2 separate regions of the Homo sapiens genome follow, and region 2 is linked to region 1. Evidence: promoter capture Hi-C in 16 types of primary human blood cells and fetal thymus (Javierre and others, 2016). All regions are on one chromosome and are shown on one strand. The core of a region is centred on a gene start or on the middle of the fragment in contact, and the rest is flanking DNA. Distances in the headings are between cores, read along the strand shown. Region 1 holds the start of RNF103 (ring finger protein 103). Region 2 overlaps RNF103-CHMP3 (RNF103-CHMP3 readthrough).

Evidence for each region. The method cuts DNA at HindIII sites, captures the fragments that hold promoters and counts their contacts. A CHiCAGO score of 5 or more calls a contact.
Region 2: a contact is called between a fragment that was not itself captured here and the fragment with the promoter of RNF103 in region 1, in 6 of 17 cell types (M2 macrophages, M0 macrophages, M1 macrophages and 3 more). The highest score is 7.6, in M2 macrophages.

What each region holds. Positions count from the first base shown.
Region 1 is chr2:86,621,675-86,626,584 of GRCh38, reverse strand. RNF103 (ring finger protein 103) reads left to right here and starts at 2,720. Exons shown (of 4, transcript NM_005667.4): 1 at 2,720-3,924. The coding sequence starts at 3,699. The region is part of intron 2 of RNF103-CHMP3 (RNF103-CHMP3 readthrough); the gene reads left to right. RefSeq lists silencers at 2,530-2,699, 2,780-3,319, 3,590-3,669, 3,850-3,899 and an enhancer at 2,525-2,819. The HindIII fragment of the contact is 8,880 bases long and covers 1-3,712 here.
Region 2 is chr2:86,694,321-86,699,230 of GRCh38, reverse strand. All of the region lies in intron 1 of RNF103-CHMP3 (RNF103-CHMP3 readthrough), which reads left to right. Among named protein-coding and RNA genes, the nearest start is that of RMND5A, 24 kb to the left of the region's middle. RefSeq lists an enhancer at 3,349-4,548. The HindIII fragment of the contact is 2,782 bases long and covers 1,341-4,122 here.

The DNA of each region.
Region 1 (4,910 bases), core at 1,471-3,970:
AGCCTATTAGAAAAACAGATTATGAAAATGAATAATTCATACATTCTTCTGTTTTTGAAAATAAATTCTAATTAGTCTGCCCAGCTAGGCTTAGTGGAAACTGAAATCAATCTCATGGGAAGACAGCCCACACCTCCAACCCCTGTCATCTTTGGAGTCCCAGAGGATGAACCGCTGCCGCTAAACCTCCGGACCAGGAAAACAGTCCTAGTGGGTTTTTTTGTTTTGTTTTGTTGTTGTTGTTTTTTTTTTAGATTACAAAGTAATACATGATTATTTCAGAAAATATAATAAAACAGAGATATAGCATAAAAGAAAAAATATTCTAAATCCCATCACTTAGAGGTGAATACACCTAACAATTTAGTGGATACATCTCTGTCTTTTTGTAATACAGATACAAAAATAGGATCATATGACGCAAACTTCTCAGTCACCTGGTTTTTTTCACCAAACACTATATTTTGGACATGGTTCCATGTCCATAACCGTGTGTCTACATTTTTCTTTTTAGTGGCTGCCTCATGGTTCATCATTTGAATTACTGTATTTGATCAATCCTCTGTCACTAGATATTTGGGTTCTTCCTTTTTTCTTTCCAGCATTAACTCTGCAACAACGACGAAATTCTATACACACATCTTTGTGCCCATGTCCAATTATTCCTCAAGATAAATTTCCTGAAGAGAGATTACTGTGCCAAAGAGCTTGTATTTTATGGGGGGCTTCTAACCCACATTGTATACCCCACCAACATAGAATGTGCTTGTCCATACTCTCTTATTCAGATGACCCAATGTGTTCTCTTATCAATGCTTTTATCCCTCCTGTGGGTTAACCATGAATGAAACAAAGCAAGGGGGTTGGGATGGGAGGCAGTTGAAACAAACAAGAAATTTAAAAAGAGTTCTTTAATTCCTTCTTTCTAGTCCCTCCCACACTCTAATGTTTTTTTCCAATTTGGAACTCTGGCCTGACTGGTTCCACCCTCAGCTCACACACCAACTTTCCCTGCCCATGCCTATTCTGTATTTTTGAGATTGGGTCAGTCTCTCCTCACTAGCGAGTACATACATTCCTTTGAGGTGAGGGACATCACCTTCAGTGTCAAGGTTTGGACAATATCATCAAAGGGTCACCAAGACATGCCCAAGAATTCTGAAATTTCAGAACCAGGCTTGTTAGAATCAGTTGTTTAACACAGTCTCCCACACTGATCTGCCAGCCACGAGAACAAAGCCACATGGAAGCTAAAGACACAGGGGCAGTGTCCAGTTGCTGGCTGGACATTCCTACACCTCCTCCTCTGATTCTCAATGCTCCCTGGGCCCATCCCCTTCCAACTCCTCCCCCACTAGCCCGGCACTGAAATGCCCTTGTTCACTTTATTTTAAATGGGCACCATTCGGAGGCTACATTCTCACAGTCCATTCTTTGCTTCCCGTTCCTCCCTTGCTCCATGACCTGGGATCATGATCCCTTTCTTCCTAAAACTTTCACCCCTAGTTTCAGATAGTTGACAGTTTTGCACAAATAGTAACATTTCCCCGTAATTACTGTTTTTTTTTTCCTTCCTTATCAAAAGGGGCTGGTCAAAGCCAACCTTGTTCAGTTTATGAACCCAACTCCTTCCTCCCTCAAGACTGACACAGAGATTGACGTAAAGAGTACGCTCGGCCCGGTTAAATTTATAAGCACAGAACCAGGTATCGCATGCTTGTCCATGTGACTCTTTTTTTTCTTTTCTTTCTTTCTTTTTTTTTTTTTTTTTTTTTTTTTTTTTTTGAGACGGAGTCTTGCTATGTCACCCAGGCTGGATGGAGTGCAGTGGCGCGATCTCAGCTCCCTACAAGCTCCGCCTCCCGGGTTCACGCCATTCTCCTGCCTTAGCCTCCCGAGTAGCTGGGACTACAGGGGCCCACCACCACGCCGGCCTAATTTTTTGTATTTTTAATAGAGGCAGGGTTTCACCGTGTTAACCAGGATGGTCTCGAACTCCTGACCTCGTGATCTGCCCGCCTCGGCCTCCCAAAGTGCTGGGATTACAGGCGTGAGCCACTGTGCCAGGCCCATGTACAAAATAAAGCACCCGGAACTTTGCACCTGGACTTATCTACACTCGACAATCTTTGTCCTAGGAACTCAGGGAGTCCACACCAGGCTTTTAACACCCTTGAGACTGAAGGAGGGAAAAGGCTGTAACTGGCAGCGACAACTGGGCCTAGTATAACGCGAACTCCAGTTTTGGCCAAACCTCCTCCAACACACATGTGCAAAGCCACATTCTCATGAAGAGGGGGCAAAACATTTGCTTTCTGGGTTTAACCTTCTACCATCTCAAACCAACTGTGCCAAAAATTTCCCTGTTCACCAGGATTCATCAAAAAACGTACATTTCTATTTTCACCGATTTTAAGAGAATAATTAACTGCTCTATTTTTACAAAAAATACACAAAGTGATACAATCTAAAGACTAATCCTCAGACAAAATCAATTGCTAAACATTGGAGGGGCAAAAGGGGAGACCACGCCGCAAAAGCACGGAGAGGCAACTTTCGGCACCGCGGGAAGGCCCCGACCACGCTGCGGCTCCGCCTCTCCTCCCGCCCCTCGTTCGGTAGTCCGGTAGCCCCGCGGCTCCCCGAATTCCCCGCCCTCGGCCCCTGCGGGCGCACCCTGCAGGCCCCGCCCCGGCCCCGCCTCATCGCGACGTCAGTTGTTATGTCTCGGCTCCGGCCGCGGCCGCCGCTGATACACGGTTGTGGAGGGTACGGCCGCGGTCTCCGGAGGTGGCGGGGGTGTTGGGGACGGGTGCTGCGACCGGCACTGCCCATCCGAGCGGGACGGGCGCTGAGTGGCCGGGAGGCAGCCGGGTAGCCGCCTGGAGGAGCAGTCTCGGGGCCTATTATTGGTTTTTTCCCTCCGAGACCGATTCCATCTGCAGAGACCGCGACGCCCCATCCTGGGCCGGGCCGCAGTGCCCGCCCGCCTGAGAGGCGCCGCCCGCCAGCCGGCCCGAGCGAACCTGGAGCCGCCGCCGTGCCCGCCGCTCTTCTCGCGGAGCCTGGGCGGTCGGCGGGGCCTGGGGCCTGGGCTTCGGGCGCGGCGTTGCGGCGGCCGCTCCTCCCCGCGCAGAACACGCTGGGCCCCGGGCCTGGCCCGGCCGAGCGCCGCGCCCTCCTGACCCGCGGCCGCGGGAGTCCGGCCCCCACGGCCCCTCGGGCCCCGGCCTGCCGCCCGGATCCCCGCCTCCTGGGCGGATCTGAGTTATTTTTTGGTCTCCCCCTCCCCCTTGAGATCGCGGCACCGGAGGGCCGACCCCGCCACCTGGGTCAGTGCCCGCCCCGGGGGAAGCGTCCCTCGTTTTGTTCTTCCCCGCGAGCTCTCCCCGCGCCCCTCTCCTTTCTGTGCTTAATGGATGGGGGTTTTGAGTTTTTCCCCTTTATTTTTGTCGGCTCTTGACTGGGAGGCCCGGCGCGAGGCTCTGCGTCTCTGCGTCCCTCGTCGCCGCCTCGCGCCCGCGCGGATCCCGTCACCTGCTTCCCCGCCGGGGATGGCCGGCCAGTGACGGCGCCGGGTGGCCCGCGCGTGGACACGGGGCCCTCGCCCAAGCTGCCACCGAGCCGCGGCCCCCGCCCTCGACCCTTCTCTCTCCCGTATTCCGAGCTCTCTGGAAAGAGAGGAAACTCCAGGGAAGATGTGGCTGAAGCTTTTTTTCTTGCTCCTCTATTTCCTGGTCCTGTTCGTCCTGGCCAGGTTTTTTGAGGCCATTGTGTGGTATGAAACTGGCATCTTTGCCACCCAGCTGGTGGATCCGGTGGCGCTGAGCTTCAAGAAGCTGAAGACCATTTTGGAGTGCCGGGGGTTGGGCTACTCAGGGTTGCCCGAGAAGAAGGATGTCCGGGAGCTGGTGGAAAAGTCAGGCGAGTATCGGGCTTCCCCTAGGGTCCCCTCCACCTGGGAGAGGGGACGACCTGTACCTCCTGGTACCTGGCTGTTCCCCCAGAGTGAGGCCTTTCCTGGAAGCGTTAAAGCTGCCCAGGTTTCTTCGTCCAAGCTTCCTACAATCAAGTATGCGGATCCCAGCTTTGAGGAGGAGTCTGAAATTATTTGGAGGAGTGTTGGTGTATCCTTTTAAGGTTATCGTAAAATGACAGTTTAAAGTGTGGCTTCTTAGCGTTGTTTACTAAGTTGAGTGATTTTCTCAAAATTCTGGAATATCAACTAGTTACAAACTGGAAAGCATTATTTGTCAGTTGAAGTTCATAAAAACGTAAGAAAAACTCCAAAACGTTGTCTGTCAATAGCAATATTTGTCACGATAGTAATAATAAGATACCCAGAGTGGGGACACATCTTTGGAATACTTACTATCAGAGGCACTTGGGCCTAGGATTTAAATGTTAAATCATGAGTTTGAATATAGACAGTATACACCGTACAGTATTAGCTTTTCAGACTTTAAGTTTGGTGAAAATAAGGCGAGCATTTTGTATAAATGCCTGCCATGTTCGAGTTTATATTATATTTCTGTTAGGATTTTTAAAAATTTGCATCTTGGATGTGTAAAAGAAAAATTTTTTTTGTCTTCTGTGTCACAGGTACCCTTGCATTGTTTAATGGGTTGAGAAATATACGTGAAATAGTGCTGAGAGAATATTCAATGTCTTAAAGAATGTGTTTTTAGTAATTGTTGGTTTTGGTAGGATTGGGTGAGAAATATGGTTAATTTTTTTCACTGCTGCACAAAGTATATCTTTGGATATACTTCCTGAAAGTGGAATGTAATTTGAGAAAGGCTTTCTGCGTTGCTGTGGGAAGCAGCTGAAACTGATGGTTATCTTTTTTGTTGTTTCAAGTATTTTTGTCAGCTGTATCTTTTACAAGACAAATCTTTTCCTTCTTTAGT
Region 2 (4,910 bases), core at 1,482-3,981, 73 kb before region 1:
AAATGCCTTCTGTAAGAGACTCCATGTTCTTGCTATGAACAGAGTCATGGTTCTCCCTTTAGAACTAAGGGAGTGCTGGAAATCCATGACTCGATTTACTATTGGAAAAGAAGTGACAAAGCATTGATCTAACCACTCCCAATGATGAAAGCCCTGGAACAATTTCCTGAGCTGGTCCTCCCTTCTCATTACCCAGTCCCTTGTACCCTGAAAGAGTTTGGAGGAAATGTCATGGCAGAGTTGCTGTATTAGTTAAGTATGGCTGCATAACAAATTATCCCAATACTTAGCAGCTTGAAAAAACAAACATGTTACACAGTTTCAGACATTCAGAAATCCAGGAGTAGCTTACTTGGGTGGTTCCAGCTCAGTGTCTGAAAAATAGATGATTGTTTTTACTGTATATAAAAATGTATACATATAGATAATTGCAAACAAGTAAGCACATTTTATTTTATATGAACATTATGTTTCATCAGATGTGTCATATGTTTTATTATAATTCCAATTGATTTCTGATCCTTTAAAAAAATAGTTTCTGAAATGTGGCTCTGGCCTGCATAGTTCTGGGAAAAGGAATTCTAGTACAGGGGTCCACCATGTGCCCCCACAAAAGCAGCATTTAATTTAACTGTAATATACATGTAACTATCCTTTATCTTTTATTTTAAAGTTTAACATTAATTAATAATCTTAGTTAATTGATATCATGATTTTGACACTAATATATTTGCTCAGTGTATTCTTAGTTAAATTATTTTCATGCACACTTTCTCATTTGATCTCATATCAATTCTGTTTACTATACCTGGTAGCAAGAGCTCATCAGGGAAACAAGAGGTGCTCAGAGAGATGGCTCACAAGGGGAGGAGTCAGACAAAAACTATTTACCATCCTAATCTTTATTGATAATTTACTTCACATGATAGTTTGTAGAATACAATTGAACTTCTGTGTTTTCCCGAGTTATAAGCAAAAGGGTTCTGTGAAGAAGATGGAATGAATATGAGTGTTTTGAGAAAACCCACTAAAGTAACAATAGAGATGTAGAAGACAAACAAAATAAGATTAAACAAGACGTGAATTAACAAAGTAAGTCTCAGTCATAATGAGGGTGGGAGGGAAAGGTTTTATAACCTCAAGATCCCAAAGAAAAAGGAAGAAAATAGAGGGAAAATCTTAAGAACCACAAACATGAGACTGAAGCAACTGAATTGACTGTAAGAAAAGAAAGTAAAACCAAAAAACAAGACCTGAGGACTAAAAATTAGGAAACAGTTTATCAAAAGATAGGTCATAGTCATAGAGTAGCAGGGTGGGGGAAAAGGTTATTAAAAGCTTTCTCACACAACACAGGTTTGCTTCCCCAAGAGAAATGAGACAATGTAGCTAACAAGTAATAAAGGAAACAACATGAAAACATGTCTCAAGCCACAGGGAAGTTAAGCAGAGAACCCTTAAATGGAAATGATGATCCATCCTAAAAAGATGAAAAAGAGGATGTGGAGTACAAAGGACATAGAACAGGAAATTAAAACTTTGATGTTCCAAACCAGTTCACCCAGTTATTTGGCCTTAGGTAAGACATTCTCTGTGCCTTTGTTTCCTTGTCTATAAGTTGAAGAGGTTGGGAGATCATAGTATCCAAAGTCTCTTCCAAAAAAGATGTGGCTCTGTGCATCTAAGCTCCAACTGACAAGACACAGAGCTATATAAGAAGGTAAAGAAAAGGCCAGCAATATGCACAATTTTTTTTTTTAGACGGAGTTTCGCTCTTGTTGCCCAGGCTGGAGTACAATGGTGCGATCTCGGCTCACTGTAACCTCTGCCTCCTGGGTTCAAGCAGTTCTCCTGCCTTAGTCTCCAGAGTCGTTGGCCAGGCTGGTCTCCAACTCCTGACCTCAGGTGATCCACCTGCCTCGGCCTCCCAAAGTGCTGGGATTACAGGCGCGAGCCATCGCACCCAGCCAATAGGCACAATTTAAGAAATAATTAAGCTGGGTGTGGTGGCTCATACCTGTAAACCCAGCACTTTGGGAGGCCGAGGTGAAAGGATCACTTCAGCCCAGGAGTTCAAGACCAGCCTGGGCAACGTAGCAAGACCTCATCTGTACTTGAAAAAAAAAAAAAAAGGCCAGGCGTGGTGGCTCACACCTGTAATCCCAGCACTTTGGGAGGCCAAGGCGGGTGGATCACGAGGTCAAGAGATCAAGACCATCCTGGCCAACCCAGTGAAACCCTGTCTCTACTAAAAATACAAAAATTAGCTGGGCGTGGTGGCATGCGCTTGTAGTCCCAGCTACTCAGGAGGCTGAGGCAGGAGAATTGCTTGAACCTGGGAGGTGGAGGTTACAGTGAGCCAAAATCACACCACTGCACTCCAGCCTGGCAATAGAGTGAGACTCTGTCTCAAAAAAAAGGAAAAAAAAAAGAAAAAAAGCTGGGTGTAATGGAGCTTGCCTGTAGTCCCAACTTCTCAGGAGGCTGAAGTGGGAGGATCACTTGAGCCAGGGAGGTCGAGGCTGCAGTGAGCCATGATTGGGCCACTTCACTCCAGCCTGGGTGACAGAGTGAGACCTTGTCAAAAGAAAAAAAAAAAAGGAATAATTGAAGATAAAATTTCTGAAGCAATTAAAAAAAGAGCCCCAACTTAATGTAGAGTTTAAGAAATTTCAAGTTGCCTCCACAGAACCACCCTCAAAAAAGACTCCCTCCCCACACCCCAGTCAAGCATATGTAAAAGAATCATCTATCATCAATGAAACAATAAATGTGTAATTATAATTGAAGACAATAAATCTACATTATCAAAATAATTTAAAAATTTCGTAAAGATACAATAGGTTTGAATAATACAATGAATAAAATGGAACCAATACAAAATCTATAACTGTACTTCCTTTTAAGTGATTTCAAAATATTCTAATGAATCTTTTGTAAGAACTACACAATAGACATAAAGTGTAAATTCTATAAATGATTTTATAGAATTCCAAATGATAATTAATACAGCATTGTAAAGTACCTAACCATAAGGATAAAACATTATTTTAAAACAGATTTTCTTCAAGGAGGAAATACAGAATATAATGGAGCTTTATTGAGATGTGGTTAATATACAATAAACAGCACATGTTTAAAGTATACAATTGGTGAGTTTTGACATATGTGTACATCTGTGAAACAATCATCACAGTCCAGCCAATGAATACACCCATCACACCAAAAGGATCATGTGCCACTTGGTAATCTCTCCCTCCTGCACTTCCCTGCCTTATGCCCATCCACATGATATACTTCCTGTTGTTATAGATTATTTTGCATTTTCTAGACTTTTACATAAATGGAGTTATACAATATGTACTCTTTTTTGCCTGCCCTCTTGTACTTCATGTAATTAGTTTGAGATTCATCCATGTTATAGCATGTATCAATATTTCATTTATTTTATTGTTCCTTAGAATGAGTAGTATTCCATTGTACAAATTTACCACAATTTGTTTATCCATTAACCTATTGATGCACTTTTGGGTTATTTCTAGTCTGAGGCTCTTACAAATAAAGTTGGTATGAACAATTGTGCAAAAGAAATTTTATGGGCATATGCTTTCATTTCTTCTAGGTAAATACCTAGGAATAGAATGACTGTGTTAGAAATAAATTTTTGATGCCACAAAAGAAATAGCACTCGAACATAAATTTAATTTTCTCAGCAAGGCAATTTTACTTCTATAGAAGGGCGCACCTCGTGGATGGAGCAATGGCGAGAGCACATCTGAACAAGGAAGGGGAAGGGGTTCTTATTCCTGACACAGGTAGCCCCTACTGCTGTGTTGTTCCCCTATTGGCTAGGGTGGGACGACACAGTCTAAGCCAATTCCAATTGGCTATTTTAAAGAGAGCAGGGGTATGAGTCAGAGTGGTGGGGTGCGTTGTTTAGCGGGGAAGACGGTTACAGAACAGGTGACTCAGGATGACTCAGGTCAGAGCAGCTGACCAGGGATGACTCAGGACAGAGCAGGTGACCAGAGGTGACTCAGGATGGAGCAGGTGATAGAGGCTAGGAGGAGTTTGTTTACTGAAACTAGGGGCAAGGAGAGAAGAGAACGAGGAAGTTAAGCTTTAAAATAAAGAACAGGGAGCTGAACTTACTGATACCAGAACTCATTGTACTTAACAATTTACAGGCTAAAACCTTTGAAGAGGAATTTATTATATCCTACAACTGGGTTATATGGTAAGTGTATGTTTAAATTTTAAGAAACTGCCAAACTGTTTTTCAAAGTGGTTAACCATTTTTCATTCCCACCAGCTATATATAAGAGTTACAGTTGCTCCACATCCTTGACAACACTTGGCATGGACAGTCTTCAAAATTTAAGATGTTCCAATTGGGGTGTGGAAGAATCTCATCATGATTTTTAATTTGTATTTATCTAATGGCTAATGATTTTTTGAACATCTCTTCATTTTCTTATTTGCCGTCTGTGTATCTTCTTTGATGAAGTCTTATTTTGCCCATTTTTGTGTTGGGTTGTTAATGTTTTTTTTTTCTTTTTTTTTTTTTTGAGACAGAGTCTTGCTCTGTCGCTCAGGCTGGAGAGCAGTAGCACAATCTCGGCTCACTGCAAGCTCCGCCTCCCAGGTTCATGCCATTCTCCTGCCTCAGCCTCCTGAGTAGCTGGGACTACAGGCACCCACCACCATGCCCGGCTAATTTTTTTGTATTTTTTTAGTAAAGACAGGGTTTCACCGTGTTGGCCGGGATGGTCTCGATCTCCTGACCTCATGATCTGCCCATCTTGGCCTCCCAAAGTGCTGGCATTACAGACCTGAGCCACTGTGCCCGGCAGGTTGTTAATTTTTTAAACTTTTATTAGTTAGTTTTGAAAATATATATATTCTTTGCA